6 separate regions of the Homo sapiens genome follow, and all the other regions are linked to region 3. The links are contacts of gene promoters, found by promoter capture Hi-C in blood cells and fetal thymus (Javierre and others, 2016). All regions are on one chromosome and are shown on one strand. Each heading gives the region's core, a stretch centred on a gene start or on the middle of the fragment in contact. The rest is flanking DNA. Distances are from core to core; before and after follow the strand shown.

Region 1 (3,423 bases), core at 216-2,715, 300 kb after region 3:
CTATTTTTTTCTCCTAAAGTTGTAATTCCATATGTACTTTCTGCTCATTACGTTAGGCATTTCTCTGTGTGTAAGACTTATGTTTTTGCCATTTTAAAAAACAAAAACAAAACATACATTCTGGCAAAAATTGTACAAATTTTGTGGGAAGTCTTGATTGTTACACAAGAGTACTTTCTGGTTAAGAACACTTAAGGTAACAATCACTTTCTTCAAGTATTGTTCAGGTCTGTAGTATTTTAATGAATGCCTTGTAAATTCAGATTCATCCATGTATCAACACACTTCTTGACTAAACTTGGAAAGGAGAGTTGTGGTAAGGTCAGTGTTTGCTGTTATGTAATCTGTTTGTCCAAAATATTTAAAAATCAGTATCGTAAGATTCTTAATTCAGAGTCAAGAATTATCAGTGTGACAGCAATTTTCATATGTTGAAAGTTTTTTCCCCAGTAGTTGTTTCATGATAATCAAGCTGTTTCTTAGGTGTGGACCTCAAAAAGTATTATCAGTTGATTTTTATGACTTTGAAAAATTCTAATTTAAATGCAATTGATATATTGAGAGCTCATAAACAGAATGTGCTTTCCCTGTTGATACTGCTGCTAATTTAATTCTAGGTAACTGAAGGAAAAGGAATGGTGTGCATTCTTGTTGTTTTTTCATACTCTCACATTCATCTTTTATCTAGTCTCAAGATGATCTTAAGAGTAAAGCTGTAATTATAACTGATTAGAAAGAATTTCCTAACTTTAGTATAGAGGGAAGCACATAGGGTGCTTTCTTAATGTTCTAGAAAGCAGACCCTATTTTAGCTTCTTAGTCATGGAGTGGGGGGAACTGTTTCTTTCTTTTTAAAATTATTTTACAGTTATCATTGTATTCAATTTTTAAAATTCTTACAACCTCTGTGAAGAAGGTAAAGAGTAGATGAATAAATTTTAATGTCAACCTAGAACTTCACTCCATAATTTATTTGTGTTATAGTAAGTTATTTTAAGCTAGTATATACCCCTATTCAAAAGTCAAGATTTAAACATTGTTGCTAAAAAGTAAATGGGGCCTGGCGCCATGGCTTACGCCTGTAATCCTAGCACTTTGGGAGGCTGAGACGGGTGGATCACCTGAGGTCGGGAGTTTGAGACCAGCCTGACCAACATGGAGAAACCCCGTCTCTACTAAAAATACAAAATTAGCCAGGCATGGTGGTGCATGCCTGTAATCCTAGCTACACGGGAGGCTGAGGCAGGAGAATCGCTTGAACCCGGGAGGTGGAGGTTGTGGTGAGCCAAGATCGTGCCATTGCACTCCAGCCTGGGCAACAAAAGCAAAACTCCACCTCTCAAAGGAACTTTCTGGCATTTAAAAAAGCTTTCCTTGGATCAGATATTGAAAATCCCTCTAGTGTTTTAATAGCTTCTATTTGTCACTAAATATGAAGGATGGGTGGGTTTGTGGTTAAAAAAATAAATAGCAACAATTTCCCAAAAGGTACATATTTAAACTGAATTTCAAAGCCGAGATAAAAAGTATGGTTCAGAAACCGGAGATTTCAGTTAAGCTTCAGGTAAAGGAAGCAAATAGGCAGAATAAACCACACAGACAAAATGTCAAACCAGGCAATGTTTGTCTTTGAGCATCTTCCATTTCTTATTTTAGTAGGCATCTCACTGGTTCCCTGTGTCTTTTATCCTGCTCTCTGTCACTGGTAGCAGAACAAGCTAAACTTCCTTAAGCAAAACTGTCCTAAGAAATGTACACTGCAGAGACTTCCTAAAGAGAGATGGATGGATTCATTTGGAAACATCTGTGTGCACACTCTAATTTGTATTCATTTTTCCCTAGAGAATGATTACACCTATATAATTAAAAAGTTGCCTTTGAAAACTATTGGCACCAAAAATGGACAATAATTAATGACCCATCCCTCATTTTTTAAAACCATTTTATTGTGGTAGGATTGACATACAAAAAGCTGTAAAGATGGAATGTATACAACTCAATGAGTTCGGAGAGAATCATCACCACAATCTATGCCATAAACCCATCCATCACTTCCAAAAGTTTCCTCCTGCCCTCTTATGTATTGTTATTTGTGTGTGTGTGTGTGTGTGTGAGAGAGAGAGAGATGAAAACACTTAAAATAAGATATACCCTATTAGCAAATTTTAAAATACACAATGCAGTATTGTTAACTATAGGCACCATGCTGTACAGTAGATCTCTGGGACTTCTTCATCTTTCATAACTGAAACTTTGTATCATTTGACTAATACCATCCTGTTTCTCCCTCTACCCAGCCCCTGGTCACCACCATTCTGCTCTCTGCTTCTATGAGTTTGACTCTTTTTAGTTTCCTTTTATAAATGGTGTAATGTAGTATTTGTCCTTCTGTGTCTAGCTTATTTCACTTAGCATAGTGTCCTCCAGGTTTGCCCAAGAGAAGTGTTTCTTTTTTAGAGACAAGCTCATTATCTTTACTTTAAAGCCTATTTTGGTTCTGAGAGTCTACAACTTGGTATGTAAGGAGTGAAATTTGTGTGCTTGCAGTTCATTAGGCACTTGATAGATCTACATCGTATTTATATATCTTCATACTAATCATGGGGGAGAATTTATGTAACAAAATGAATGATAATAGAATTATTAGCTAAGATTGGACTATTTCTCTTGGCATTCAAACTAGACTCTGTCTTTGAGTTTAGATGAAGAGAATGGGTCTAAGATAAATAAGCATTGCTTATTTGCTGTAATGTTTACCTTATTTAAGTAAGAAAAATAAAAATAAACATTGCTTCAAAATGGATAAAGTGAAAACTATCAGAATACTGCATATTTATCTATGCAAGGAAATATGACTGTTGTCATGGATATGCAGTTTGGTATCTCAAGCAAGAAGGTATCAGAGAATGTGAATATGGCATAGTTTATAAGATCTGTGACCTAATAATCATACTTCTAAGAAATGCGAGGGAATAATTTTATAGTCTTGAAGTGGGAAAATGACCCAGAAGCCATAAAGGAGATATATTTTACTACTTAAAACTAAAAAACAAACAGCCAACAACAACAAAAAAACCCCACAATATTTATCTAATATGTCTAAGAAATTCAGACATAGTGAATTTTTTTTTTTTTATTTGAGATGGAGTCTCGCTCTGCAGTGGTGCAATCTCGGCTCACTGCAACCTCCACCTCCCAGATTCAACCAATTCTCCTGCCTCAGCCTCCCGAATAGCTGGGATTACAGGTGCCTGCCACCACACCTGGCTAATGTTTGTATTTTTGCTAGAGACAGGGTTTCACCATGTTGGCCAGGCTGACCTCGAACTCCTGACCTCAAGTGTTCTGCCCACCTCGACCTCCCAAAGTGCTGGGATTACAGGCGTGAGCCACCATACCCAGCCAGTGAAATATTTTCATATG
Region 2 (3,513 bases), core at 73-2,572, 460 kb after region 3:
GCTCTGTTGCCTCAGGCTGGTCTCAAACTCTTGGGGTCAAGAAATCCTCTTGCCTCAGCCTCCCAAGTAGCTGGGGTTACAGGCATGTCATACCATGCTCGGCTATAGTACTACTCTATTAGTGTACTTAGTTCAAAAGAATCATGAGTACTTGCTAAAGCAGAGACTTCGATAAGTCAAATAAGTTAAGGCCCAAATGAGGCAGAAATTCCACAGTTAAAACTCTGGGGTCACAAGACACACTATTAGCTTAATTCTATAATGTAACTTGGGTTAAAAGGCCAGGCAGGCATGGTGGCTCACGCCTATAATACCAGCACTTTGGGAGGCTGAGGCGGGTGGATCATGAGGTAAGGAGTTCAAGACCAGCCTGGTCAAGATGGTGAAACCCCATCTCTACTAAAACTACAAAAATTAGCCGGGCGTGGTGGCAGTTGCCTGTAATCCCAGCTACTTGGGAGGCTGAGGCAGGAGAATCGCTTGAACCCGGGAGGCAGAGGTTGCAGTTAGCCAAGATCGCGCCACTGCACTCCAACCTGGGTGACAGAGTGAGACACCATCTCAAAAAAAAATAAATAAATAAAAATAAAAAAAAAGGTCAACACATATATTGACACTGGTAATAAACAATGTTGTCTTTTTTTTTCTACTTTATTTTTTGAAAGCAGTAAGGTACAATACACATTCAAGGCAAGGCACAATAAACATCCATTGTCACAACCCTTTTCCCTGACATCAAATATCAGTACAAGAAACTTCTTTTATCTTTTGCCTTAAAAAATTGGTTTTCACCTGACAAAAACAAGCAATGGGGAAAGGATTCCCTATTTAATAAATGGTGCTGGGAAAACTGGCTAGTCATATGCAGAAAACTGAAACTGGACCCCTTCCTTACACTTTATACAAAAATTAACTCAAGATGGATTAAACACTTAAACGTAACACCCAAAACCATAAACCTAGGCAATATCATTCAGGACACAGGCATGGGCAAAGAGTTCATGACTAAAACACCAAAAGCAATGGCAATAAAAACCAAAATTGACAAATGGGATCTAATTAAACTAAACAGCTTCTGCACAGCAAAAGAAACTATCATCAGAGTGAACAGGCAGCCTACAGAATGGGAAAAAATTTTTGCAATCTATTAATTTCCAAATCTACAGGAACTTAAACAAATTTACAAGAAAAAACAACCCCATCAAAAAGTGGGCAAAGGATATGAACAGACACTTCTCAAAAGAAGAAGTGGCCAGCAAACATATGAAAAAATCCTCATCATCACTGGTCATTAGAGAAGTGCAAATCAAAACCACAATGAGATACCATCTCACGCCAGTCAGAATGGCAATCATTAAAAAGTCAGGAAACAACAGATGCTGGAGAGGATGTGGAGAAATAGGAATGCTTTTACACTGTGGGTGGGAATGTAAATTAGTTCAACCATTATAGAAGACAGTGTGGCCATTTTTCAAGGAACTAGAACCAGAAATACCATTTGACCCAGCAATCCCATTACTGGGTATATACCCAAAGTATTATAAATGATTCTACTATAAAGACACATGCACACATATGTTTATTGTGGCACTATTCACAATAGCAAAGACTTGGAACCAACCCAAATGCCCATCAATGTTAGACTGGATAAAGAAAATGTGGCACATATACACCATGGAATACTATGCAGCCATAAAAAAGGATGAGTTCCTGTTCTTTGCAGGGACATGGATGAAGTTGGAAACCATCATTCTCAGCAAACTAACACAGGGACAGAAAACCAAACACAGTTATGTTTTCACTCATAAGTAGGAGTTGAATAATGAGAACACATGGACACAGGGAAGGGAACATCACACACCTGGGCCTGTCAGGGGGTGGGGGGCTAGAGGAGGGATAGCATTAGGAGAAATACCTAATGTAGATGACGGGTTGATGGGTGCAGCAAACCACCTTGGCACGTGTATACCTATGTAACAAACCTGCACATTCTGCACATGTATCCCAGAACTTAAAGTATATATATATATAAAATCCTATGCTTAATAAATGGGTTTTATATAAAAAATAGGTTTTTAGAGATAGGGTATTAACTTTTGCAGCTGCAGGACAGAAGTAGTTCTCCAAAGCACAGTTCTATGCTGGTAAGAGACCTAGGCAAGACTCACTTGACCACATACTGACATAATTACGTAAAAGATATGGTGCAGGGATAAGTTGCAATGAAAAAGCTGATGAAATCTCGGTCTGTTGAGGACTTAATATTATCCATGCTACATGCATACTTTTTGTGGGTGTAAGCTATACTTTTGAGCCATGATCAGAAATTATCTATAAATATATGAAATAAAAGGGGCGAATCAGGAAATATTCCCCGTAATGACCCACCCCTTCATTAGCACTAATAATACCTTAACCATATTGGTTAATTGATGGAACTAAGAAAAGGAAACATATTTAAGAAAATATGCTGGGCCTAATGTTAAGTGCGGTATTTTAATTAATTCATACTTACCAACCTGAAAATAAAATGAGGTTAAGGGAAAATGGCAACTTGCTCCAGGTCAAAGAACTAGGTAAAAGTAAACCTGGGATATGATTCCAGAGCCCATGTTCCCACTAATGCCATACCAATCCTTCCCTGAGCAATTTGCTTTTAAAGAGTAAATCCACAGTTACCACTTATGCAAGTCAGATGAAACGCTGGCTCCAGACACAACCTGGTATTTAATAAAGAGTAGTAGTCTATAAAGAGTAGTAGAGTCTATAACACTCACCCGTCTTCTTTTATCCATTGTCTCATAGTAAATATTGACAAACTCCTCAGCAGCTCTACATGCCTGATCTACATAAGTTTTAAAATCCTACAAGAAAAATTCCAGAAGTATAGATTACCAACCTTTTCAACCCCTCACAAACACAAAACCACTGACAGAAGCTGATGATTTATTTCAACCACTATGTAGCTCTATATACAGTCCACATTCTTTCATATAAATTCAGACATTTTAAAGGCCGGACTCTGAAGTTTGCAATTTTAAAATTTTTCACTAATTTTAAGTGCATGTCTTTAGGACATAATCTTCTCAATGAATCTGAGTCTTTTTCAGTCTCCACATATAAATTTATAATCTTTTCTTGGCAACTAAGCACTTTAGACTTTCAATATTTTACAAACATTCACGGCAATGAAAATGACACCACCTGAACCTTAGAAAAGGAGAGAGAGCGGCAAAAACTGCCACTGAATAAGCTAGGAAATTGTTTTCTGTTTTCAAGTGAGGTGTTAGAGCCAAACTCCAAAGTTGATGAATGGGAAACACACACACACACACACACACACACACACGAAAGTAGTTCAACTACTTGAAAAACCGGCAGCTCCACTTAGGAAACTTTCCCACATTGCGTAAATATTCACTGCTGTTTGCCTAAGAACTGTGACACCGAAGAAAGCAACGCTGTTGGCGTTCGTGCCGGAGAATTAAGGAATACCTTCCTTCTCATTCATGT
Region 3 (3,404 bases), core at 557-3,056:
GGGTGGAAGTCGATGAGGTAAAGAAATCAGCTTCCTAAGCACCCTTGGACTATGACCATAGGAGACAGAATGACAGTAATAGGATGGAGAGGTTTGCAAAAAAAGAAATACCCTCTCACCATAGTGATCACCAGCCCAAAGTACACATGTCAGCCTGGGGACCTGCTTCAGAACTCATTTAGTAGGAGCTTGGTGCTGCTCCAATGCCTCAAAATGCAAAGGCAGACCTCACTCTAAGAGCATACACTCCCAAATGAAAGAGTCATTAAGAGAAACCTGTAAAAGTATTTCCCCAAAGTACCACAGTGTAGATGAGAAAGTTTATGCGACCACCTCCAGGAAAGAGTGTCACCAGGCCCCTGGGAAATTAACTACCACAGAAGGCAAGGGAGCTGGGTCATGGTCCACTGATGTGATTCAGAAAGGGCACCTGGCTGGGGCTGGAATTCCTGCTTGTGAAAGCCCAGGGCACGGCAGGGTTGGGCTGGGCTGGAAGGGAGGGGCAGCCAGGGTGAGTGCCAGTCGTTCCTAGGGTTCAGGCACAAGGTTCCTCACCTCCACTGTGGGGCTGACGCACTGTGCAAAGGTGAAAGAAAGCCAAACCTGAAATCGGCACAAAGGCAGCCACTCGTTGGAAAATCATTTTTAAAGGTCCCCCTGCCCGCCGGGATGAGGTGCTGTACACTATGGAGTGTCCTGAGCACATAAATGACTCTTATCACTTAGGATGCCCAGGAAAAAGTCAACAGACTCACATGCATCATGGTGACCAGGTGACAGGGGTTGAGCAGGTAGATGACGGTCTTGGTGGCGAACTTAAAGCCCACCTCCACCCCGAAGGTCAGGCACAGGGCTACTAAGAGCAGATTCTTGCTCAGGCTCTCCTTGCCTTCCTCTGGCCGCTGGGTCACCTGCTCTGGCTGGCTGCCAGGGCTACCCCTACCGTCCTCCTTCGTCTGCCTCAGGATGTGCCGCAGGGCCACCAGGATCTCCAACAGAGCCAGGGTCAGGACCACCACACTTTCCAGCAGCCGCTGCTGCCAAGAGAGGAAGGCAGCACAGTCGGGGCCCCCATTGCCTGCAAAACTGGGGTCCACGCCCCCATAGAGCCAGTCCAGGAGACTCTGGTAGCTATACCGGGACATGATGCAGTGGTTCCCCTTGACCACAGTACAGGAAGCAAGAGTGAGATGGAACACAAGCCCAGAGGGTTGCCCGGGTGGTGGACCATGTAAGGCGGGCACACCCCCACAACCCCCCTCCAGACACCAGGGCACCGAGAGTAGGGGAGGGGAAGCTACACGCAAGGCCCGGGGTAAAGTGCTGGCTCTAACTTGTCCCCACGGCTGTCTGGGGGAGCCCCCCGCGCTTCTCCAGTGGCCACCAACGAGGCAGGGTTGAAAGGAGCCGTTGGCCAATCTAAAAGGAAGGAGAGGAAAAAAAAAAAAAAGAGGTCTCAAAGAGGCAATTGCACCGGGAATTAGGAAGCGGGAGGGGTAACTAGCGAGGGAAGAAAACGGGAACGGGGCAGTGGCGAAGCAAGCAGGGGTCAGGGGAAGCCGGAGGCCGAAAGGGTCAGGGCGGGGGCCAAGGAGACCCGGCAGTGCTGCGGCAGCGAACCGGGAGCCAAAAGGGGTCAGAGCTAGGGGACACGCGGAGGCAAGGAGAGGAGCTAGCGGGGCCGAGCAGGCGGGGAGGGCGACGGGGATGGCAGGGACGCCGGACTCCTCGTCTCACGCACTCGCCACAGAGGGATCTCTTACTCCTGCAACCGCGTGGCCGTCTCTGCCCCCAGCTAGCAACTTCGCCGCCGACGGGCCCCTCCAGCCAATTTAGAGCCGTCCTTGTCCAGCCTCCCGCCCCCGGGTACACCCCCGAACCCCCAGCTCCACCCTCCGGCCCTAGACGCCCGCCCTCCGGGCAGCACCACCCCCAGCCCGCGGCCCGCCCGGGACCTGCCCCCCTCGCGCAGGCAGCGGAGGGAGGAAGCCAGAGGGAAGGCGGGAGGCCGGGCCAGCCGGGGGCTGGACTAAAGCCGGCCCCTGGACTAAAGCCGGCCCCCCTCCCTCCTCCCCGGCGCCGCAACCTCCCGCGCCTCCCGCCCAGCCCCGGGGACCGGCCGCCGCGCCCCTCGGGGCTTCACTCACCGGCAGCTCGGCCCGCGGCCCCGGATCGGGCTACTGCTCCGCTCCCGCGCTCTCCGCGCCGGGCGCTCGGTTCCCCTGGCGGCCGCCGCCGCGGCGCACGGCTCCTCCTCCCCGTCTTCCTCCCCCTGCAGCAGCCGCGCTCGCTTCCTCCTTCTTCCCCTCCCTCTCTCCTCCCCCTCCCCGCTGCCACCGCCACTGCCTCCCTCCTCCCGTCCAGTTCAGCTCTCGCCCCACCACACGCCCTCGGGCCACGACTACTCCTCCTCGCCTCCTTCCCTTTTCTGCCTCTGGCACTCCCCTCACCCGTCCACCATTCACACCTCCCACCCTCCGCGGCTTCGGCTCTCCCTCCTCCTCCTCCCTCCTCCTCCCTCCTCCGGCTCAGGCTCCGCCTCCTTCCGCCTCCTCCCTGGCCTGCCTCGTCTTCTGCACTCGGAGCCTGCACGCGTGCACAGCCACCCTCCTTCACAACCGTGTACAGAATTCGCCCCCTCGGTGAAGCCCTGTTGACTGGCTCCGCCTCCCGCGACCTGGTTCTCCAGGGCACTTCTTTCTATACTGCACACATAGTAGGCACTTAGCTGGCCCGCACTAACTTCTTGTGGGGGAATAAGCCTTTCTAGTAATGAGCAGCTTGGCTTCGGGGTGTGTGCTGGGTATGGCCGGCTCCTCTTCGCGATTCCTCCTTTCTGCCACGACTCATGCAAGGCCAGAAAGGCATCTTCTCTCCCCTTTCTAGCCACAGCCCCACTCCACACTTCAGTGCCTAGGACAGGAGCTTCATTTCCCTGCTCCTCCCCCTCCTGCTCTGATCCACTATTTTCTCTCTACCTCTTGCCACACAGACCACCCCTGCCACACCCTCTCCCTCTCCCACTTCTCTCCTTTCTCCTGACAGGCCTTCAATGGTAGGCCAGTGGGAGGAAGGGAGGCTTCCCGTGACCTCTTTCCCTCCCCCTCTTCCCCCCTTCCCCCTCCCCAGAGCAGTTGCTTCCTAACCTATGCGTGGAAAAGCCAGCCAGGACTATATGAGTGTGGAGGAGCAGCACTAAGCCCAAAACCTGGATAAGGGCAACTGACGGAAATAAAATCCCCTCTTCCTACCTGCTGCTTTTTACCGATCGGCTATTTGCTTTTCTTGAGACAAGGGTCAGTAAAAGGACCTTCTCAGGACCTTCCTCATGTTTATTTAATATTTATTGAAGACTCACGATGAGTTAGAAGAATATCCAGAAAAACACAGTTAGGCACCTTGCC
Region 4 (3,726 bases), core at 283-2,782, 410 kb before region 3:
GAAATGGAAAGCCCAGAGAGATGAATGGACTTACCCACAATGCCTTGCACAAGGTAGGCGCTCCATATGTTGTAGAATTCACAGTCAGTAGGGCGGGGCTGAGGCCCTTTGCCTTCCAAATCGGACTGAGATTTCCCACCACAACTAGGAATCAGCTACCCAGGGAGACTGAAACATACAGTCGTTTTTGTTGGTGAGTCATAGGCAATGCACATTAGAGTGTGGGGTCGAGTGGCCCCAGCTGCTGCCTGTGTGTGTAAAGGGCGGGGGTGGGCTCAGGCCGCGGCTGAAGCTTTTTAGCATGTTTATGATGAGCTGAAAGAACTCACTGCTTAATTTAAAATACGGCTCACACATACACATACAATTCAGCAGCTGGAGGAGCTGCCAGGAAATGAGAATAAGTGTAGAAAATTGGAGGATCAGGAATATCAGGTATTCGGCTCCGTTTCCCAGCTCCCATGCGCTGTCTCTGATCCCATAAGGTCCCATCTTCCCTAACAAACTCTGGGAGGTCAAGACATGGTTGGAGACCGTGGCAGTTTGGGGAAGGGAGGCCTGGCCAGAGCCCTTAATGCTAGCTACACTGATTGCCCCACCCGGCCTTAAGCTTGCCGGCCTTCCTCTCGTTCATGTTCCTTGAAATCTGACGGCTGGAAAAACTCATTTGGCCCTGATCACTAACTGCCTATGCTAGCTGCTGCTTTTCCTGATTGTGTGTATCTTGCCTCCTCAACCACACGGGGGCCATCGGCACACACTTGAGGAATTGAGTTGTTTTCTTTTGTATTCACCGCAGCTCTCAGCACAGTAGAATTTACACAGTGAGAGACTCGAGTGTGTTTGCTCATGGGTTGCAAGATAGTATCATTTGAAAAGCCTTTGGGGCAGAGTACCTGCTCTTAATTAAAAAAATAAGAACCTCAACTTGACAAAAATGTGTTAGACCATCAGGCGTATCTCTGGTTTCCTTCACATTGTTCCTCTACACCCAGAGTCCCCGGCCTGCATGCCGGATGAACCTACAGCCTCTCAATCAAAATGCTCCACAAGTCATCTCTTTGGGTTCTTTGCTCAGAATATCCCTTCTGACTGGGATGCCCTCTCTCCCAACTCTACCAATCATAACCCCATCTCACCCTTCAAGGCCAAATGTAAATGCCATCTCTGGCATGAAGCTTTTGCAGGCACAATTCATTGCTCTTGCCCCTGAACATGGCACCCTGTGTCTACCTCTTTTATGGTACAGGCTGGTGGACTGGAATGACCTGGTTTCAAATTCCAACTCCATCACTTCCCAAGGCTACCTCCGTTTTCTCTTCTAGAAAAAGGGATAACAACATCAGCCTCAATGGGATGTTGGAAGTTGCCAGTAAAATAATATCTGCAGCCTGCATAGCACAAGACTTGGCCTCCAGAGCTCAGTAAGTGTTTTTTGTCATCATCATCATCTTCATCACCTCTGGGGAGCAGAAGAATGTAATAGTTCCAGAACTGGTTTGGTCCATTCTTAAAAATGTGACCTTGGGCCAGTCTCTTCCACTCTGAGGCTCTGTTTCCTCATGTGTATAAAATGAAGTGATAATAGTTTACCCACCTCCATCACAAAACCTGCTGGGAAGATGCAAAGACATAATAATGTAGGCAAGGTAAACTGCTAAGCACAGGGCTTATCGCATAAAAAAAAAATGCTCATTTGCGTCTGCACACCCCTACAACCTAGAAAACTCCTTTAAGGGCACAGACAATATTTTACTTATCTTTGCATCTCTTGCTGCCTAGCCTAGCCCAGAACCTCTGCAGCTGGCAGACCCACAATAAATCATTGTTGAATTGAATTGAAAACCCAAACCAGATGTGCCTCCTCCCCTGTCAAATGAAGCTTTCAAGCTGGCAGGTTGGGCCTGCTGCCTCTTCACTCCCCCTCCCTCCAAGCTGAGCAGCCGCCATTGTCTAGGCCTGGCTCTGGGGAATGAGGCAGTGCCTGCCGAGAGGAGGGATTCAGAGTGGGTAAGGATAGATGGCACTAGGTGGGATGAGTGCGGTAGGGAAGAGCACTCTGTCTGTTCCTGATGACCCCAAACAGACTGCCTTTGAAGGGGGCTATCCTGAAGTCTCTGTCGAATGAAAAGTAGTGACAGTCCAAAAGCCCTTCGCCACCCAGCGCCTAGCTGTGGAGGAAACCCAGCTCTCCCCCAAAAACCGAAAATTGGAAGTAAATGAAGATATCGGGAGAAAGCTTCCTCTTCCTTTAGCAAAGATAGTGATACAGACATTCAGAGAGGTTCAGCTCTGAAATCATAAGGCCAGGATTTGAAGCTGAGTTCACTGGCACCATGGGCATGCTCTAACCACTGGGCCACCTTGCCTCTAAGCTAGTCTTGCTATAGAAGGACAGGAGTATGTTTTCACCCTTCCCACCAACCCCACAGGACGCTTAGAAGCAGAGCGTATGGCTTTAATGGTGGAAAATACTTTAAAAAGTACAAATCTGTTACAAAACTACAAAAAGAGGCCCATGTCTTCAGTGTTTCTGAGCCAGAGCTATGCAGACAGGGCACAGGGGGTAGCATGCTAACCAGCACAGAGTCAAGGTAATGGGCCACACACCTGAACATGGCCACTTGGATTGTAACTCTAGCTCTGTCACATGCTAGCCTGAGTGACCCCGGGCAAGTGATTCAACACCCCTGTGCCTCCATTTTCCCACCTGTCATATGATATTAATAATAGTACCTCCTCACAGGGTTGTCTATGAGAAGTAAATAATCTAACATTTTTAAAGCAGTTACCATGTGCCCGGGACATGGTAAACATTAAACAACGGTTCGTTAAATCAAAATAAATACATACCTCTGTCCCTTTGTAGCCAGACTAGTCTAGAGGCACTGTTGCCAAATGGTTAGTGTGTGCCCATGGAACCAGCTGAACTCGGCTTCAAATCCTGGTCTCATGATTTCAGAGCTGAGCCTCTATGAAACTCAGTTTGACCATCTCTACCATGAGAACAATAACAGTCCCTTACCCACAGGCTGTTGAGAGTTTTAAATGAGATATCTCCAAAGTCCAGAACACAGTGCCTTGCCACGGCAGAGTGAGTAAGCACCCAATTAAGGCAGAGTGTTAATCATCTGAGTCTGCTTCCCATTTTTTTTTTTTTTTTGCCTCTTCTGGGTTAAGTTAACCCACGATATATAGTTTTGGAAGTCTTGCAGCAGTAAAGGGAACAATTTCATCATTTTGCCAATGAAATTCCTAAACATTTTATTCAAGAGCCAGAAAAGGCAAACATTTTTGGTCATTTCTAAATCAATGAAGCATGGACAATCAGTTTCCCCACTCAGCAAACCTGACTCCCAAAGCTATAGAAGTCACTTTGCAGGACAAAATTGAAGGAATGAGTATTTTACTGCAAACAAAAGCCATCTTTGTTTGCGGCCCAGCTTTGGGAGAAAAGAAATACCTCAACCCAGGAGCTTGGAAAATTCTTGAAAGTTATCTTTTTATTCCAGCAAATCCAACGTAATTGGCAAGATTCCTGACCATGCAAACCTGAGTCAGAATGAGTCGCCTTTACCCACCCATCTCCCCACAGCACCCAGAACCCAGCAGAGTACACTGGGCATCAATACATATTGGTTGTCGATTCCTCCATGGGAGCCCCAAATTCCATTTCTACAATGTCTGCTACATTGCCAAAACAATCCAAAAGCAGCACTAAAGAAC
Region 5 (3,713 bases), core at 555-3,054, 500 kb after region 3:
TAGTCAGATAAATGCTACTCATTTGTAGTTAGAAGTAGAAGTCTTTTTTCCCGTCCAGTCTATGATTTTAAATGAAGAGGTTAGTCTATTATATTCATTATGGTTAGTGATATATTTGGATTTATTTATACATTTAACATTCATTTTTATCTTTTTCATTGTCGTTCTTTTGTTTCTCTTTCTTCACCTCATTTTTTGCTTCCTTTCAGATTGATATTTTTATGGATGTGTCTGTTTATCCCCAACAATTTTTTTCCTTTTTGACTTGAAAGTTATATGCTCTGTTTCCATTATTTTAGTTATATTCTCTTTTTCTATTTTAGAAATGTGCTGCATATTTAATAATGTTTAAATTAAATCATTATATTTGCCACCCTCCCAAACAATACAAGGACCATAGAACATTTTAATTCTGATCATTCCACTCTGACTTATATGTATTCATTGTCCAGCATTTTTTACTATATTTTTGATCCCATGAATTAGATATTGTTTCACATAGTCACTATTTTAGCTTACTCATGTATTTATCACATTATAAATGTTAGATCAAGGGGAGGAAATGTAAGATATATTGACAGAGGTTCACTCTCCCAAGATTCAGGATTGAATATGATAGTACTCAAGTACAGTCATGCTCTGCATCATGATGTTTTGGGCAATGACAAACCTCATATATGGTGGTGGTTCTATAAGATTATAATGGAAGCCAGGCATGGTGGCTCTCACCTGTAATCCCAGCACTTTTGGAGGCTGAGGCAGGAGGATCACTTGAGCTCAGGAGTTCAAGACCAGCCTGGGCAATATACTGGGACCCCATTCTCTACAAAAAATTAAAAAAAAATTATCCCGTCATGGTAGTGTGTGTCTGTAGTCCTGGCTACTCAGGAGAATGAGGTGGAAGTATCAATTGAGCCCAGGAGGTCGAGGCTGCAGTGAGCTGTGATCACACAACTGCACTCTAGCCTGGGTGATAGTGTGAGACTCTAAAAAAAAATTAAATAAAAATTATAATGGAACCAAAAATTCCTATCGCCCAGTGATGTTATAGCCATTGTAACATCATAATGTAGTTACCTTATTTATTTATTTTTTTTTACAAATTTAGTGTAGCCTAAGTGTACAGTGTTTATAAAGTCTACAGTAGTATACAGTAATGTCTTAGGCTGTCACATTCACTCAACATTCACTCACTGACTCACCCAGAACAACTTCCTTTCCTGCAAACTCCAGTCATGATAAGTGCCCTATACAGGTTTACCATATTTTATATTTTATATTGCACTTTTGCTGATGCTTTTCTAGGTTTAGATATGTTTTGATACAAAAATACTTACTATTATGTGTTACAGTTGCCTATAGGAATCAGTACTGTAATATGCAGGACAAGCGTGTAGCCTAAACAGTATGCTATCCCATGTACCCCAGGTGCGTAGTAGGCTATACATCTAGGTTTGAGTACGTACACTCTATGATGCTTGCACAATGATGAAATTGTCTGATAATGCATTTTTCAGAACATATCCCTGTCATTATGTGATGCATGACTGCACTTGGGATTGTCATTAGTGGTCCACCAGGATGACTAATCAAAGCTTAATCTCAGTATATCAATCATGGCCTAGTTAATAAGGCAAAAATATTTGAACATCCTGAATGCACTGTAGAAGGAGTCCATGATGTAGTGGAACTGGATTCTCTGATCATTTTGGGAATAATGGATTTTTGGAATTATAGAACACAGATGGTGACACCTAACCATTAGAAATAAGGGAATACAATTATCACAGTAAGCCACAGTGGCATAATGGCAACTCGAATATTCTGGAATGGAGAGAACTGTGGTAGCTAATTGGTAACAGATCCCTCAAAGTGAAATATATGGGCAGCCTATTAAAATGCTGCTTGTTTGATACATGTGGAAAAATTTTAGGTCTGTTGGACAAAAATCTAACTTGAATCAAAACAATGGCAATTCACAGCCTCTTGCCTAGTTCTTAGACTTAAGCTTGTTAATAGACTTGGAGCTTCTTAAATGGAGAGGTGGTTGCATCCTTTTGAAGAAGCACCCTATAATATGGCCATATGTATATACTGTCAATCTTACCCTAAGCTTTTCCCAAAGTGGCCTTCAGCCATGTACTAAGGGGACTGTGCAGTGGGGAAAGAAACATACCAGAATTTTAAAATTATCTATTATGTACTGGCTCTGATCCATTGGAACAAGGGATCCATTCAGTGGTTATTTCTATAGACATTAAACGTATAGTATGAACATATATACTTAGTAACTGGCAGAATCTCTACCTTGTCCCCACCTGAAGGATGAGGTCTCTTACGGTGGGCAGTGGCCAAGTAAAAGCCCTTGGAAATTCCCTTCATCCCACTCAAAGACAATAAACCAAAAGCAATACCATATCTCTGGAGGAACTGCAGAGATAAGACTAGAGAGATGCAGGGGTGATAACTTCTACCTCATCTCCATTTAACTCATCTAATTAACTGGTACAAAAGTGAGATAGGTTGTGGATAATGACAGCAAATTGTTACGGACTTATTCTGGTGATGATGCCAACCACAGCTCCAGTTCTGGATGTGGTATTTTTACTAAGGCAAATCAACACAGATTCTGGCCTGTTGTATACAGCTGTTGACTTGGAAATTGCTTCCTATTCCCATTCCTCTCAGTAATGAAAATCAGAAGTAGGGATGACTGTATTGTTTCCAGATCTATTCTAATTTTCCTATTCTTTATCATAATATAGTTGAGAGGGATCTTGTCCATCTTGATATCTCACAGATCATTATTGTTCTATTAAATTGACAATATTATGCTAATCAGATTTGATGATCAGGAAGTAGAAATAAAACTAGATACCTTAGTAAGATATGTTCATATATATGGTGGGACATAGTTCAAGATCCTCCCATGTAGATGAAGTTTCTAGGGGTCCCGTTTCAAGCATCTTGAGATATCCTTCTAAAAGGAAAGTTGCTGCACTTTACACGGCTCACCGTAAAGAAAAAGGCTTAATGTTTGGTGGGCCTTTTCAGATTTTGAAGGCAATATGCACTATATTTGAGCATGTTTAATTAGGTACTAAAGAAAGGCCCAGTGCAGAAAAGGGTCCCAACAGTGGGGCAAGCTGTGCTGCCACTTTGACCTTATGACTAGAAGAATAATAATAAGGACGAGTCTACAGAAGACAAAGTTTCTGAATGATGTCTCTGGAAATCTCCAATAAAAATATCACATTGCAGACCAAATGCTTGGAGTAAGTCCATGCTCTCCTTGACTGACAACAATTCTCTGTTTGAAAGTCAGCTCCTAGCTTGCTATTAGACCCTGGCAGGAACTGAATTCCTGACTACGTGACATAAGGAAACTATATGACCTGAACTTCTCCTTATAAACCGGGTGTGTTAACTGATTAACTGAATCATCAAATGAATATATTCATCAGTGTCCTGCTATAAAATTGAAGTGATATATACAAGACTGGGCACAAGCAGGTCTGAAAGGCATCCACTTGAGCAGGTTATTCAAGACTCCTATGGTACTTGCTCCTGGTACTTTACCAATTTCTCCTGAAACATACTCCTATGGCCTCATGGAAATTTCCCTATGAACAATTGCTGTGGTTTAAATGTTTTTGTTTCCTCCAAAACGCATGTGTTGGAAACTTAATTCCTACTGTAACAGTATTGAGAGG
Region 6 (3,243 bases), core at 188-2,687, 370 kb after region 3:
ATTTCAGATGTATCCCTCTTCTTGGAGAGCTTTGGTAGCACATGGTCTCAATGATTTGTTTTCCTGTTTGTAGTCCAAGTTACACAGGCTCTGTCAAAGTAGAAACTGTGTCTGTCTCATATGCTGTTATAGATCTAGTGCCTGCCACTGTGCCTAGCACATAGTACATGCTCAGAAAATATTTCATGAATGAATGAATGAGGAAGTCTAGGCCTTGAAGGATGAGTAAAATTTGGATAACCTGGAAGGGTTAAGGGTTTGCAAGGGTGATGAGCAATAGGAATAGAGTCAAATATGTTTGTGGTGTATGCCAGGCACAATTTGGAGGCAATGAGAAATTATCAGATCCCATCATGCCTATTTAACATAATGCTGAGTGAATAAAGAGCCACTGAAGCATCATTGCTGACAAGCAAAGTAGAAATTAGAACAAACAGGTGGTAATCGACACAACCATGTTTCTCTTAGCATCTAATTTCAAGTCAAACTCTGTGTGTCCACTATGGAAACAATGTCTCACGTGGTCAGGGGACTAATTCCAATAATTCCTAAATGTTCCCATACCATCTTGTAGCTTAGAAGCCCTCGCTGCAATCCCTGGTACCCCAGAGGCAAAGGAACACTATGCTGTCATCCTTCACAATGTGGGATTAGAGGAGTAAACCCTGTTGTTACAGGCATTGTTTTCCACATGGAGAAATGATCCTAGTGACTATTTCATACTCAAAACTTATGTCAGGTGTCACATCCTTAGGGAAATGTGCCCTGAGCTCTCTGAGGTTGAGTCAAATGCTCCTCTCTGGTTCCCACTGCACCATACGTTTAATGTTAATGAAACAACCACAGCCAACATTATTGAGCATTTCACATGTTCCAGGCATTATGTTCAGTACTTTACATAAGTTATCTTATTCAATCCTTGCCACAAAATCCTATGGTAAGCGCATGGTTATTATCTCCATTTTACAATCGAGGAAACTGGAGCAAAGATAAAATGGGTGCAGCAAATCAACATGGCACATGTATACCTATGTAACAAACCTGCACATTGTGCACATGTACCCCAGAACTTAAAGTATATATAAAAACCTAAAAATAAATAAATAAAGACATATGAATTAAAAGAAAAGAAAAACATTCTGAATGAGGAGAAATGAAAACTCCAGTCCTCCACCAGATGGTGCTGTGGGAGTCCAAAAGAAAAGTGCCCTCGGACCTCTTCCTTTCCCACTCCTTTCCCAAGAATACTCCAAATATCCGCATTTTTGTTTCTTTGTTTTTCTTTTTTCTTTTCCAGAGAAGCCTGAGTGGGTGGGAGAAACATTTTCAAGATAATGTTTAGGCAGGAATTGACATGAGTTTGATAATTTTATTTATGACTTTATGTTTTGGCCCAAAAGGCAAGATTGACCTTATTTCACTCCACCCTTTTAGATTCATGTACTTATTTCAAAGATCTCAAAGTGGTTTTTGCACCCTTGTCACCATTACAAAGCTGGAAATAAAATCTGAATTGCCCAAAGCATTGGAGGAGGCCGTGCAGTGGAGTGAAAACGTCTCCTGACTGCGAGGCAGTCTGATGGCTCTGCCATTAACTAATGAGAGACTTCAGGCAAGTCCCTTCTCCTCTCTGGACCTCAGTAGCTCCGCCTTTACAATAAGAGGGTTAGATGAGACTTCCAACCCTGAAATGTTTTATTTTCCCTGATAGTTTCTATACAAAGGACAGTAGACAATAAAAAAGATAACTGACCTCTGGTTCAAATCTCAGCTTGACCACCTATGAGCCAATCGAATTTGGACAAGTTACTTAACCTCTCTGCAACTTAATTTCCTCATCTGTATAATAGGAATACTGTTTTACCTACCTCAGAGGGTTGTTGTTAAGGATTAGGTGAGATAATGTATGTAAAGTGTTTAACACAGTGTTTGTCACTTTCAGTAAAAGCTATTATCACATAGAGCTTACCCTCACAATGTAGCAATTTCCTAGAGCTTGGGTGTTCATTTAGTAGTCATCAAAATTGGGGGAAGTTTTAAGTACTAAGCCACAAACAGTCAGGCTTGGCCCTTTTATAAGTATAATGATAAATGCATTTCATGGGTGCACTGCAAGGCTAAGTATGCAATTGAAGCAGAGAGCTGCACAAGTAACCATAAACAATGGGAATCCTCTCACACTGTTGGTGGGAGTCTAAAATGATACAAGCCACTTTGGGAAAATGTCTGGCAATTTCTTATAAAACTAAAGTACATCTTTCCCATGACCCAGCATTTCCACACCTAGGTATTTACCCAAGAAAAAGGAAAACATATGTCCACAAAAGGAATTATATGAGAACATTTAGAGCAGCTTTATTTTTAATAGCCAGAAGTTGGAAACAGACCAAGTGTTCATCAGTAGGAGAATGGATAAACAAACTGTGGTATGGTCACACAGTGGAGTACCACTCAGTAATAAAAAGGAACAAACTACTGATACTCGCAACAGCATGTGTCATGATTTATGTATCATATATGTGAATTATGTATCATTATGTATCATGTATTAGCATGAGCCTCAAAAACATTAAGCTGAGTAAAGTAAGTCTTATTCAAAAAAGTCCATGCCTTATGATTCCATATATATGAGCTTCTATAACAGGCAAAACTAATCAATGACGGAAAAAAAACAGTGGCTGCCTCTGGGAGTGAAGGGAGAGGATTGCCTATGAAAGGATGAGAGGACATGTTCTTGAGTAGTAGTCTTTATCTTAGTAGGGGTTACATTTACCAAAACTCAGAAAATATGCAGTTAATATTTATATATCTCATTGTATGTATATTTTACTTCAAAAGGAAAAAAGAATAATAAACAAATATTGGACTATAGTTAATGATAGGTATGGAGAAAGTGCTTAGGAGTGAAGTGCATACTGATGTATGCAACTTCAAAAAAAAAAAAGATAATGAATAGACAAATAGATAGAGGGAGGAGTGGATAGGTGAGGGATGAATAAAGCCAGTATAGGAAAATATTAGTGGTAGAATCTAGGTGGTTACTAGATATCCTCTGTAAAATTCTGTCAATGTCGCTATATGTTTGAAATTTTACACAATATATACTTTTTTTTGGAAAAATGTAACTTCAAAGTTTCACAGTCCCCACAGAGTGAATCTTTTTCAAAGTTGGTAAGTTTCATTACGGGAAGGCAGACCTCAGACCTAGGTAAAAATTTCCTGAGCACATATTATGTGCCAGGC

What was found. The method cuts DNA at HindIII sites, captures the fragments that hold promoters and counts their contacts. A CHiCAGO score of 5 or more calls a contact.
Region 1: a fragment that was not itself captured here is called in contact with the fragment with the promoter of TMEM164 in region 3 in 5 of 17 cell types (total B cells, naive B cells, neutrophils and 2 more); the score reaches 7.4 in total B cells.
Region 2: a contact is called between a fragment that was not itself captured here and the fragment with the promoter of TMEM164 in region 3, in 1 of 17 cell types (non-activated CD4 T cells). The highest score is 6.6, in non-activated CD4 T cells.
Region 4: a contact is called between a fragment that was not itself captured here and the fragment with the promoter of TMEM164 in region 3, in 2 of 17 cell types (naive B cells and M2 macrophages). The highest score is 7.3, in naive B cells.
Region 5: a fragment that was not itself captured here is called in contact with the fragment with the promoter of TMEM164 in region 3 in 1 of 17 cell types (neutrophils); the score reaches 5.1 in neutrophils.
Region 6: a contact is called between a fragment that was not itself captured here and the fragment with the promoter of TMEM164 in region 3, in 1 of 17 cell types (neutrophils). The highest score is 7.4, in neutrophils.

The regions. Positions count from the first base shown.
Region 1 is chrX:109,703,631-109,707,053 of GRCh38, reverse strand. All of the region lies in intron 1 of ACSL4 (acyl-CoA synthetase long chain family member 4), which reads left to right. Among named protein-coding and RNA genes, the nearest start is that of ACSL4, 28 kb to the left of the region's middle. The HindIII fragment of the contact is 190 bases long and covers 1,371-1,560 here.
Region 2 is chrX:109,537,396-109,540,908 of GRCh38, reverse strand. NXT2 (nuclear transport factor 2 like export factor 2) reads right to left here. Exons shown (of 4, transcript NM_001242617.2): 2 at 2,778-2,864. Among named protein-coding and RNA genes, the nearest start is that of NXT2, 2.3 kb to the right of the region's middle. The HindIII fragment of the contact is 7,526 bases long and covers 1-3,513 here.
Region 3 is chrX:110,001,516-110,004,919 of GRCh38, reverse strand. It overlaps TMEM164 (transmembrane protein 164), which reads right to left and starts at 1,806. Exons shown (of 7, transcript NM_032227.4): 1 at 1,742-1,806; 2 at 756-1,419. The coding sequence starts at 1,145. RefSeq lists an enhancer at 944-1,599 and a silencer at 1,702-2,561. The HindIII fragment of the contact is 10,429 bases long and covers 1-3,404 here.
Region 4 is chrX:110,415,444-110,419,169 of GRCh38, reverse strand. All of the region lies in intron 1 of RTL9 (retrotransposon Gag like 9), which reads right to left. It also overlaps a transcript of AMMECR1 not described here. Among named protein-coding and RNA genes, the nearest start is that of RTL9, 58 kb to the right of the region's middle. RefSeq lists an enhancer at 342-842. The HindIII fragment of the contact is 704 bases long and covers 1,181-1,884 here.
Region 5 is chrX:109,503,190-109,506,902 of GRCh38, reverse strand. No RefSeq gene overlaps it. Among named protein-coding and RNA genes, the nearest start is that of GUCY2F, 23 kb to the right of the region's middle. The HindIII fragment of the contact is 413 bases long and covers 1,598-2,010 here.
Region 6 is chrX:109,631,042-109,634,284 of GRCh38, reverse strand. No RefSeq gene overlaps it. Among named protein-coding and RNA genes, the nearest start is that of KCNE5, 7.5 kb to the right of the region's middle. The HindIII fragment of the contact is 5,756 bases long and covers 1-3,243 here.